Linked DNA regions of Homo sapiens: region 1 is linked to region 2. The links are contacts of gene promoters, found by promoter capture Hi-C in human tissues and cell types (Jung and others, 2019). All regions are on one chromosome and are shown on one strand. The core of a region is centred on a gene start or on the middle of the fragment in contact, and the rest is flanking DNA. Distances in the headings are between cores, read along the strand shown. Region 1 overlaps TMEM53 (transmembrane protein 53). Region 2 holds the start of B4GALT2 (beta-1,4-galactosyltransferase 2).

Region 1 (6,134 bases), core at 1,787-4,286, 690 kb after region 2:
GGGAAGTCCCTTTCCCCCAAGAACACACAGCCAGGAAGCAGCAGAGCCAGCGCCCACTATCCGGACCAGCGTGCTCTACCGCCTCCACCACCGCGACCTTGCACTTGCTCTCTGCTCTCCAGCCCACGATGCTGATGCTCCGTGTTCATGCTTTGCTAATGCCCATTCCACCTATAGAATCAGCTCACTACTTACTTCCAGGAAGCCTTCCTTGACGCCCTCCCCAACCCCTTCTCACCACCCCCCACCCCAAACCATCAGACTGAGTGAGGTGCCCCTCCTCTGTACTGCCACAGCACCCACCACCACACCACTGCACTTAACACACACTATACTGACATCATCAGGAACAGGTAGGAGGCTACTGTAAAATTCAAGGCAAGAGATGGTGAAGGCCTGAACCAGAGCAGTGGAGAGACAGATAGGGAGGGGTAGAAATGACAGGAAGAAAACGGTCACAAGAATTCTGGAACATGTATCAAAAGTCTCAAAAACATGCAATCTTTGCCGGGCGCAGTGGCACAAGCCTATAATCCCAGTATTTTGGAAGGCCGAGGCAGGTAGATCACTTGAGGTCAGGAGTTGGGGACCAGCCTGACCAACATGGTGAAACCCCGTCTCTACTAAATACAAAAAATTAGCTGGGCACGGTGGTGGGGGCCTGTAATCCCAGCTACTTGGGAGGCTGAGGCAGAGAATCACTTGAACCCAGGAGGCGGAGGTTGCAGTAAGCAGAGATTGCACCATTGCACTCCAGCCAGGGCAACAAGAGCGAAACTCCATCTCAAAAAAAAAAAAAAAACATGCAATCTTTGACTTGGTAATTCCACTTATAAGAAAGAAAAACGTTAAATCATGGAGAAATATTCAATAATACATTAAGCAGATCATAGACATAAATGTAAGAGCTGAAACTACAAAACTGTTAGACGAGAACATATGAGTAAATCTTTGGATTAAGTAGCAGTTTCATAGACATGCCACCAAAAGTACAAGGAACAAACAAACAAAAGAGATAAATTGAGACTTCATCAAAATAAAAACTTTTTATTTCAAAGGACATAATCCAAAAAAAGTGAAAAAAAGAAAAACCCCACAGCATGGAGAAAATATTTGCAAATCATGTATCTGATAAGGGAGTAATATCCAGAATACAGAGAAAACTCCTAAAACTCAACAGCAAAAAGTAAACCCAACTCAAAAATTGGCAAAGGACCTGAATATATTAAGCAGGTCTTTCTCCAAAGAAGATTTACAAATGGCCAATAAGCACATAAAAACATGCTCAACATCATAGCCATTAGGGAAATCAAAATCAAAGCCACTATGAGGTATCTCTTTATACCCAGGATGGCTATAATTAAAAAGTCAGATAATAAACAAGTGTTGGTTGTGGATGAAACCAGGACCCTCATACACTGCTGGTGGAAATGCATAATGGTGCAGCCACTTTGGAAAACAGTATGGCAGATCCTCAAAAAAATTAAATGTAGAGTTACCACATGATCCCACAATTTCACTACTAGGGATACATCCAGGAGAGCTAAAAATATACATCCACATGAAAACTTGCCCATGAATGTTCATTGCAGTCATAATAACCAAAAGGTGGAAACATACCTCCTATCATCTGTGAACAGATAAGCAAAATGTGATACATCCATACAATTAAATACCATTCAGTCATAAAAAGGAATGAAGTACTAATACACGTGATAGCATGGATGAACCTTGAAAACATCATTCTAAGTGAAATAAGTCAGATACAAAGGGGCACATATTATATGACTTCATTTATATAAAATATCAAGAATAGGCAAATCCACAGAGAATGAAAGATTAGTGGTTGCCAAGGGCTGGGGGGAGGAGGGAATGGAGAGTGACTACTAACAGGAATGGGGTTTCTTTTTCAGATGATGAAAATGTTTTGGAATTAGATGGCAGTGATATTCTTACAATTCTGTGAATATACCAAAAGCCAGTGAATTGTACTTTTTTTTTTTGTTTTGTTTTGAGACAGGGCCTCACTCTGTCACCCAGGCTGGAATGCAGTAGTGAGATCATGGCTTACTACAGTCTCAACCTCCCAGGCTCAAGCGATCCTCCCATCACAGCCTCCTGAGTGCTAAGACTACAGGCACATGGTACCACACCTGGCTAATTTTTTATTTTTTGTAGAGACAGGGTCTCACTATGTTGCCCAGGCTGGTCTTGAACTCCTGGGCTCAAGCAATCCTCCCACCTTAGCCTCCCAAAGTACTGGGATTACAGGCATGAGCCACCGCGCCTGGCCAGAAGTACATTTTTAAAGGGTGGATTTTATGGTATGTGAATTATTTCTCAATAATGTTATTATTTTTAAAAATAATAGTAATACATTAAGTGAAAACACAAGTTATAAAGCAATATCATAACAGAATACCCATATACACACACATACTACACAAACGCACACTTTTTTTGTTGTTTTTTTTTTTTTTGACAGTCTCACTCTGTCGCCCAGGCTGGAGTGTAATGGTGCAATCTCGGCTCACTACAACCTTCGCCTTCCAGGTTCAAGCGATTCTCCTGCCTCAGCCTCCCTAGTTGCTGGGATTACAGGCGCCCACCATCATGCCCGGCTAATTTTTGTGGTTTCAGTAGAAACGGGGTTTCACCATGTTGGCCAGGCTGGTCTCGAACTCCTGACTTCAGGTGATCTGCCCACCTCGGCCTCCCAAAGTGCTGGAATTACAGGCATGAGTCACCGCGCCCAGCCATGTATTTTTTTTAATGCATAGAAAAAAATACATCAAATATTAATAGCAATTATTTATGGGATTAGAGGCAATTTCTTTTTCATGATTTTTTTCCCACTTTCTAAAATCAGTATGTATAACTTCTGCAATGAGAGTTAAAATATTATCTCAAACAACAGGGGAGGTGGTCCAGCAGAGTCAAAAGCAGTTGAGAAGTCAAAGAGGCCAGGGATGCCCAGAAGCCCCTCAGCAATGTGGAAGGATTCTTTTCAACCCTAGCACTTCTCGAGTACCCCACAAAGCAATTTAATCTCACAAGCTCCCTGTCCTCTAGAATTTCTCAACAAATAACACTGACACAGATAGTGCCAGAATTACAAATACGTATATTGTACAACAGTTCAAGCCATAAAACTCAAGCATAAATTAGATTGTGTATACCCCAGGGGCATATGGGGAAGACAAAGGAATGGGCTGATAAGGCATAAGGGTCTGCAGTACAATATGTACTTTTTTATTTGCAAGCCAGAATGAAAATAGAAACCATGTTTTCTTTTTAAAATGCAAAAAATTGGCCAGACTTGGTGGCTCACGCCTGTAATCCCAGCACTTTGGGAGGCCGAGGTGGGCGGATCATGAGGTCAGGAGGTCAAGACCATCCTGGCTAACAGGTGAAACCCCGTCTCTACTAAAAATACAAAAAATTAGCCGAGCGTGGTGGCGGGCGCCTATAGTCCCAGCTACTCCGGAGGCTGAGGCAAGAGAATGGCGTGAACCCAGAGCTGAGATCGCACCACTGCACTCCAGCCTGGGCGACAGAACGATATTCTGTCTTAAAAATAAAATAAAATAAAAATAAAAATAAAATAACATGCAAAAAATTGAAAGAGTCTTAATTTTCTCTACTCCCCAGAAAAACTTTCTAGTGTCTCACAGTTCCTATATTTAAATCAAATTTTTCTTTTCTTCTTTGAGACAAGGTCTTTCTGTGTTGCCCAGGCTGGAGGGCAGTGGTGTAGTCATGGCTCACTGCAGCCTCGAACTCTTGGGCTCAGGTAATCCTCCTACCTCAGCCTCCCAAGTAGCTGGGACTATAGGCAAGCACCACCATGCTCAGCTAATTTTTGTATTATTTTGCAGAGGTAGGGTTTGGCCATGTTGCCCAGGCTGGTCTCAAATTCTTGGGCTCAAGCAATCCACCCCCCTCGGCCTCCCAAAGTGTTGGGATTACAGGCGTGAGCCACTGTACCCGGCCAAATTACTTTATTTTTTATTTACTTTTTAAAAGAAGAGCAGAGCAGAGTAGCATAGTATCTAAGAGTACATACTGTACAAAATCATATCTCGGTTCAAATCTCTGCCTCTGCCACTTAATAACTATGACACAGACCTTAATCAAGTTCTCTAAGCTTCAATTTCCTTATCTGTGAAATGGGGACAATGATACAAAGAATTAAATATGATAATAGCTATAGAGGGCTTATCATGGTGCCTGGCAGAAGGAAAGAGTTCAATAAATTGAAATTATTATTACTTCACAAGTAATGCATACTCACTGTAGAAAAAGTAGAAAATGAATATCTAATAAAATTGGAATCATATTGTTTGTAATCTGCTTTCTTCCGTTTGGCAATATATTGTGAACATTTTTCCCTGTCAGTTTATATATTTCTACACCATTATTTTTAGTGGCTTCAGAGAGGCTATAGAATGTTTCATAATTTATGGTGACCAAATCTCCCATTATTGGATATGATGCTGTTTCCAATTTTTTGCTGTTATAAAAATACTTTAATGGACACCCCTTTCTTTGTGCATGTCCCTAATTGTTTCCTAGAAATGGCATCGTATTCAGGCAGCCCCTCCTAATGGCAACTGAAATCTCGGCATGCACAAGCTCTGGAGTAAGGCTCTTAAGCTGAAATCTGGAATTACTTTGGGCAAGACACTTTACCTCCCCACGAGCATCTGTTCTTCATCTGTAAAACAGGATTAAGGGTTCTCCCTACTTCACAAGGTGGTTGTGAGGATTAATAAAATAATGAAAGGAGCTCCTGGTGGGCCTGGCATGTGGATAGAACATGGTTAACAGTGTTAAGTACCACAGACATTCAGAGAAAAGGAGGCCTGCAAAGAGGCCTGGATCTCAAATCCAGGGTCTAGTACAGCACCAGCACCTGGCATAGAGCAGACACTTAGAAAGCATCCTATTTTTTTTTTTTTTTTTTGAGACGGAGTTTCGCTCTCGTTACCTAGGCTGGAGTGCAATGGCACAATCTCGGCTCACTGCAACCTCCGCCTCCCAGGTTCAAGCGATTCTCCTGCCTCAGCCTCCTGAGTAGCTGAGATTATAGGCATGCGCCACCACACCCGGCTAATTTTGTATTTTTAGTAGAGATGGGGTTTCTCCATATTGGTCAGGCTAGTCTCGAACTCCTGACCTCAGGTGATCCGCCAACCTCGGCCTCCCAAAGTGCTGGGGTTACAGGTGTGACCCACCACGCCCAGCCAGAAAGGGCTCTTATCTAGAGGTGAAAGAAAAGAGATCATGATTCCAAAAATAAATACAACTCCTCTGTATTAAAAAAAAAAAAAAAGACCTTTGGGGTCCTCGTAGACAAGACAAGGATCAAATCCCAAACGACTCTCTTCACCTGGGTCTTTGAGGTCTGTCCATCATGACAGATCTTCAGGTTTTCATCTAATTCTCCACCCACAAAAGCACAGCGCGGCCTCCTGCCAGGCCCCTGTTCCCTCCAGCCACTCACTGTCCCCCTTCAGGGATTTACTTCTGCACTTTCTCCCATCCAAGTTCCAAGCAGGCCTGACACTGCTTAGCTTCTGAGATCTGCATGTTCAAGGTGGTATGGCCATGGACTTGACTTCCACACTTTCTGCTGCTCACCATGGGGGTCTGTCAGCCCTCCTGAAGCTTCAGGTCCAGCTTGGGCTGCTCTACTCTAGGAAGCCTCTCCCACCACAGGGCCCACCATGGTGGTCCAGACCCTTCAGCACTGTCTCCTGGGTGTCCGAGACAACTTCCTGAGGGTTAAAATGATGTCTATATTTCTTTGACCTCAGCCAGTGATGAGCAAAAAAGGCATGCGGTAAAACCTGGGGAGCAAAAACCCCCTCACTTCCCCTCTCTGTGATCCCCTTAAGACCTTCTGTTTACTTTAAGAGCAAAATGTTTGTCCCATGACCAGGCCCCAGACTCATTAATTCTATGAATGAATTTTTCTTTATGTTTACTGAACATGAGAGCCACACGGTGCCTTTAAGAAGGTTGCTGGCCTATGAGCAAGTCACAGAGGGGATCTAGGTGGGACTTGGCTGACCATTCTCTGGATGGGAGGAGGGGTGGCACGGCCTGGGCCTGGGATGTCAGAGCAGCTC
Region 2 (5,355 bases), core at 723-3,222:
CCTCTGTGTCCTTGTCCCCAACCTAGCCTTACCCTCCTTCTGGAGAAGCTGAAGTGCTCTCCTTCTCTACCTATAACTATAGATTCCCCCAAACAGCTTCCACCTCCTCATTTCCATCTTCTGGTTTTCTCCTACAGGGGCTCTCTATTTTTGTCTCTGATTTGGTGTCACTGACAACAGCCCTGTTCTTTTTCCCCCCTTTCTAATGCGTTGTATCTGTATAGCACTTAGTCCTCCCTCTTTCTGTTCTCTCATTTTATCTGCCATGCTTTTCATGTCTCCAGTCTGTATTTGTGATCTAGACTAGAATGGAATTTTGTCTGTCTATATCAGTCTGTCATGGTGTGTTTGACTGTCTCTCGGAGCTATGTGTATCTCCCTCTCACATGCCTGTCAGTAGGACACCATTGTCTAAATTGTGTGTGTCTAGTCTGTCTGACAGTGTGTGAGTTTGTGACTAAGGATCAGCCTGAGGGTCTGAGTGTGACTGTGGGTGCTTGACTGAGTTGATTCTTAGTGACTAGCTTTATCCATATGCCACTTCTCTCCGTCTGTCCCACAGCGTAACTCTGTGGTTGTCTGTCCCTGTCTGCCTTGTCTGTCACAGTGTGTCCATCCTGGTTAGTCATATATCTCTTGTGGTCTGTCCATCCAACCATGTGCTAGATGTCATCTTCTATCATTTGTCACTGCCTTACCTATTCCTCTGTCCCTGCCTGATTTCTCCTGTTCTTTTTTTGCAGACCTCCAGAGTGAAGATGGGTGACTAGATGATATGTGTGGGTGGGGCCGTGCCTCACTTTTATTTATTGCTGGTTTTCCTGGGACAGCTGGAGCTGTGTCCCTTAGCCTTTCAGAGGCTTGGTGTTCAGGGCCCTCCCTGCACTCCCCTCTTGCTGCGTGTTGATTTGGAGGCACTGCAGTCCAGGCCGAGTCCTCAGTGCGGGGAGCAGGCTGCTGCTGCTGACTCTGTGCAGCTGCGCACCTGTGTCCCCCACCTCCACCCTCAACCCATCTTCCTAGTGTTTGTGAAATAAACTTGGTATTTGTCTGGGTCAGTGCAGCTTCTGTTGCCCTCTTGCGTCACCGTTCACAGAGGAAGGGTAAAGAGGCCTGTACGCCTCAGCCTCATGCCAATCCCTTGTCAGCTTTCTGACTGCACACTTCTGATCTGCACAGAGCTTGCTCCTAGGTGGGGAGGCACGGGTGCTGGGTGGACTCTAACCCCCAAACAGACTTGTTTGGGGATGAGGGAGTGTGCAGATAGGGGCCCCTGGGTGTGTTTGTGCCTGTAGTCCTTCTAGGCCCGTTTGCTCAGGGCTCTGACTGACCACCATGCCCGAATTGTCTGACAGCATCTACTTACCTGGTTGTACAGTCGGGCACCATCATCTCCGTCCTTGTGAGGCCTGGAGCCTAGGCAGTGGTCTCTGCCTCCAGTGATGGTCCTGTCCTTCTAGCAGCAGCCCCTCCCAGAAACCTCTACTCTGATCCTTGTTCCCAGGGCCCAGGGCAGCTCCTCCCACCCCATCCAATCTCGTTTTCTCCTTCCCTGACCCTGTTTCCTGTTACCCCAGAAGCCCCAGCCACCTCCAGCCCACGCCTTTAAGGGTCCTGCCCCCTCTCTGCTGGCCGACCTTGAATCTTGGTCCAATTAAAGAGTTGACAAATCCCTAGCCCCGCAGCCTGAGTCCGCCCAACCTCCAGGTCCCCTTCCTGGGGAGTTCGCGCTCCAATGCAATCCCCACTCCCCGCTAAGGGACTCCACGGTCTGCACCCGCTCGCCGGTCCGACCTCTAAGCCCACCCTTTGGACGAGCCTGACCCATTTCCTCCCGCGCTCCCAGGTCCGTGCCTCCTGGGTGCCCGGGTTCGGCCGCCGGCAGGGCGGGCTCGCAGCGGCGCGCGGCGGGTGCGGGCGTGCTGGAGGCGGGGGCCGCGGGGGCGCGCGCGCGGGCGCGCGGGCCGGGCCTGCCCCTCCGAGGCGCCGTAGCGCGGGAGGGAGGCGGCGGCGCTGTGGTCCGTGGGTCCGCCGGTCCGTGGGTCTGCCCGGCCGCCCGGCCCCGCCCTGCCCCCCGGGGCGGCTCGGCTCCATGGCCCGCGGCGGCGGCGGCGGCGGCGGCGGCGGGAGGCGACCCGGGGGCCGCGGTGGCCGCTGACCGGGCGGCGGGAGGCGGCGGGGCCGGGCCATGGGGGACGGAACCGTCCGCAGCCGCCGGAGCCGGGAGCCCTGCCCAAGTCGGAGCGGCGTCCCCTGCTGAGCCCCGAGCGCCGGGTGAGAGGAGGGCGCGCGCGGCCCCCACCCAGGGCCCCGAGATTCCAGACCCAGCCCCGCGAGGGGCACCCCGAGCGCGGCCCCGAGATCCCAACCCAGGAGCCGGTGAGAGAGGCGCCGGCGGCCAGACCCCGGCCTGGCTGCCCCCACCCCGCCCCCACTCCGGCGCCCCTCCTGGGCTTCTCCGCCCGCGTCCAGCCGGCCTCCCTCATTGTCCTCGCTCGCCCCGGCCTCGTGGCGCGGGGAGGCGTTCCATACACGTTTCCCCTTGGCCTTTGCCTCATCCGCTGCCCTCCACCCACTCCCCCTGCCCCCAGGCTCCACACCCACCCGGTCTGTGCGGCCTGCCCGTCCGCGGGTGCCACGTGTTCAGCCTGCCAGCCCCGCCCAAACGCACCCCTCAGCCTGGCCGCCAGCCTGACCCAGAACCCCTGCGCCGGAGGGAGGGTGGGAATGTCTGCACGTGGGTCTGGGTGTGAGCTGTCTGAGAGTCTGGATGTATGGCTGTGGAAGTCCAGGAGCAGTGGCCTTGTTTGTGAGTGTGGGACTTAGTGTGTTACTGTCACCCGGGTGTGTCTGTGACTGTAGTTCTCTGTGTGTCTGAGTGTGGGTGACCAGCTGGGACCAGGGTGTCCCTGTGATTCTGTGTGCCTGTGAGACTCACCCTGCTCCCTGAAGCACTGCCAGAAGTGGCTGCCGCTCTCTTGGAACCACAGCTGGAGCCATCGCCCAGGCAAGACCCCCTTCCTGCCATGCCCAGTGCTGTGCCCATCTCCAGGCCCAAGCATCCCGTTCCGGGAATCAGAACCAGCTGTGCTGGGCAGGACCCAGAGTCTTGGTCCCAGTCCCAAGGGGCTGGCTTTGAGGTCTTAAGTGAGGGGTGTCCCCTGCCTTGCCCCGTATTTTGACGTTTTGCTCCAGTGGGAAGGGATTCTGTAAACATCCAGTCTGTATTTGGGCCCCCCGGATGCTGAGGGCAACTTCCCAGCCTGGTCCCAGTTGGCCTGGCCTGCTTGTCGCTGGGATCTGAATGACCAAACCACTTCCCACCATGGCTCCTGGAAGGACTAAATGAAGTCATGAGTATAAAGTGCTCCTGCATGGTAGGTGCACAGTATTCCGTCTCTTCCCTCTTCCCCAAGCCATGAGTTCTGGGTTAAGGATGCTGCCATGTGAGGTGTCTGTTCTCAGGGGCACAGGGGCACATGGGGGTCTATAGGTAAACATGTCTCCATGCTTAGGTACAAACCAGTGTGGTTAGAGTTCACGTGTCTGTGTTCCTGGGAATGCGTGAGTGTGTGTGTAGAGTTGTGCAATAAGGGTGAGTGCCTGAGTGTGTGTGTCAGTGAGGTGGAGGAAGGTAAATGTATGTGGCTTAGTAGTGGGGTGTGCTTGAGGATGTGAGTACTGAGTTGCCGGGAACTGTGCCTGGGTGTCTGTTTGGAGGTAAATTCTTGAGTCTGTGAGTGTGAAAGGGTATGAGCAGGTCAGTGTGAGGTGTGGCCCACGAGTGTGAGCAGCTGAGTGGGAGGTAGGTGGGCAGCCTTGCCTGTCCTGCCCTGACCTGCTGGATCTGTTTCCCTCCCACCCTGCTCAGGCCAGCAGCCGGATGCCCGGGCCCACTGGGCGGGCCAGTGGCCGCCTGCGGGATGAGCAGACTGCTGGGGGGGACGCTGGAGCGCGTCTGCAAGGCTGTGCTCCTTCTCTGCCTGCTGCACTTCCTCGTGGCCGTCATCCTCTACTTTGACGTCTACGCCCAGCACCTGGCCTTCTTCAGCCGCTTCAGTGCCCGAGGCCCTGCCCATGCCCTCCACCCAGCTGCTAGCAGCAGCAGCAGCAGCAGCAACTGCTCCCGGCCCAACGCCACCGCCTCTAGCTCCGGGCTCCCTGAGGTCCCCAGTGCCCTGCCCGGTCCCACGGCTCCCACGCTGCCACCCTGTCCTGACTCGCCACCTGGTCTTGGTGAGCCTGGAGGGTAGGGCCTGCCTGTGGGGAAACAGGGTTTTATTGGTTTGACTAGAGAAATGGCATCTGGACCCAGGGGTGTGCCAGGGGTCCAGGTCTGTTGTAAGAGGGCTATTCTTGGGGTTCCCTAGCCCACCCCCAGGCTGAGGGTGGGGGCTGGTATCTGTGGATTCTGGCCAATGCCCTGATTCCTGACACTGTCCTGTCTGCAGTGGGCAGACTGCTGATCGAGTTCACCTCACCCATGCCCCTGGAGCGGGTGCAGAGGGAGAACCCAGGCGTGCTCATGGGCGGCCGATACACACCGCCCGACTGCACCCCAGCCCAGACGGTGGCGGTCATCATCCCCTTTAGACACCGGGAACACCACCTGCGCTACTGGCTCCACTATCTACACCCCATCTTGAGGCGGCAGCGGCTGCGCTACGGCGTCTATGTCATCAACCAGGTGCCCATGCGGGGGTCCATGTGCCTGTTGGTGTATATATGTGGGTTGGGGGCGTTTGTGGGTCCTTGTCTGCCCGTGTGGATATGTGGATGGACCTGGGCGTGGGTAGTCGGTGTTTGTCAGTGTGCACAGGAATGTGTACGCACAGTGTGTGCATGTGAATGTTGGCATGCACACTGGCAGGTGTGTGCATGGTCTCAGAAGGGGTTGAGCCCCACTCTCTACCCTTGGCAGGCCTCACCCCATGGTGGTGCAGGCCTTGGGTATGCTGTAGGAGGAGATGTTGAGGGCCCTGAGGAGAGGGAGTTAGACCCTGAAAGAAGGATGAAGCCTGTAGAACCCTTTGGGGTAGGTGCCAGCCACAGCTGAGGCCAGGGCACTCAGCTCAGCATCTTAAGGCCTTTGGTGGACCTGGCTAGGGCTGGCCACTAGGTCCCAGAAGGGACCTCTGATGCAGGCCCCCCCGCCCCCGCCGACCACAGAGACCTCCTAGACTTGGACATGGGTCCCTCCCGTATGATGGGACACAAGTGGAGGTGGAGCAGGGGGCCGTGGGAGCACAGAGGGCCCCAGTCCAGCCCTGGGGTTGGGAAGCAGTTGCTGAGATGGGTCTTGCGGGATGAGCAGGCATCAGGGGCTGCAGAAGCCAGCATTCTAGGCAGAGGGAC

What was found. The method cuts DNA at HindIII sites, captures the fragments that hold promoters and counts their contacts. A contact is called where the count stands out against the background at its distance.
Region 1: a contact is called between a fragment that was not itself captured here and the fragment with the promoter of B4GALT2 in region 2, in 1 of the 25 tissues and cell types used here (dorsolateral prefrontal cortex).

Annotation. Positions count from the first base shown.
Region 1 is chr1:44,664,850-44,670,983 of GRCh38, forward strand. The region is part of intron 1 of TMEM53 (transmembrane protein 53); the gene reads right to left. SNORD145 (small nucleolar RNA, C/D box 145) reads right to left here; the gene lies at 6,108-6,134. Among named protein-coding and RNA genes, the nearest start is that of SNORD145, 3.1 kb to the right of the region's middle. RefSeq lists an enhancer at 41-120. The HindIII fragment of the contact is 3,743 bases long and covers 1,166-4,908 here.
Region 2 is chr1:43,977,238-43,982,592 of GRCh38, forward strand. It overlaps B4GALT2 (beta-1,4-galactosyltransferase 2), which reads left to right and starts at 1,973. Exons shown (of 7, transcript NM_003780.5): 1 at 1,973-2,274; 2 at 3,872-4,236; 3 at 4,452-4,687. The coding sequence starts at 3,924. ATP6V0B (ATPase H+ transporting V0 subunit b) reads left to right here. Exons shown (of 8, transcript NM_004047.5): 8 at 744-1,058. The coding sequence ends at 770. RefSeq lists enhancers at 675-1,266, 1,267-1,857, 1,858-2,449, 4,814-5,355 and silencers at 1,867-1,966, 2,237-2,346. The HindIII fragment of the contact is 8,245 bases long and covers 1-5,355 here.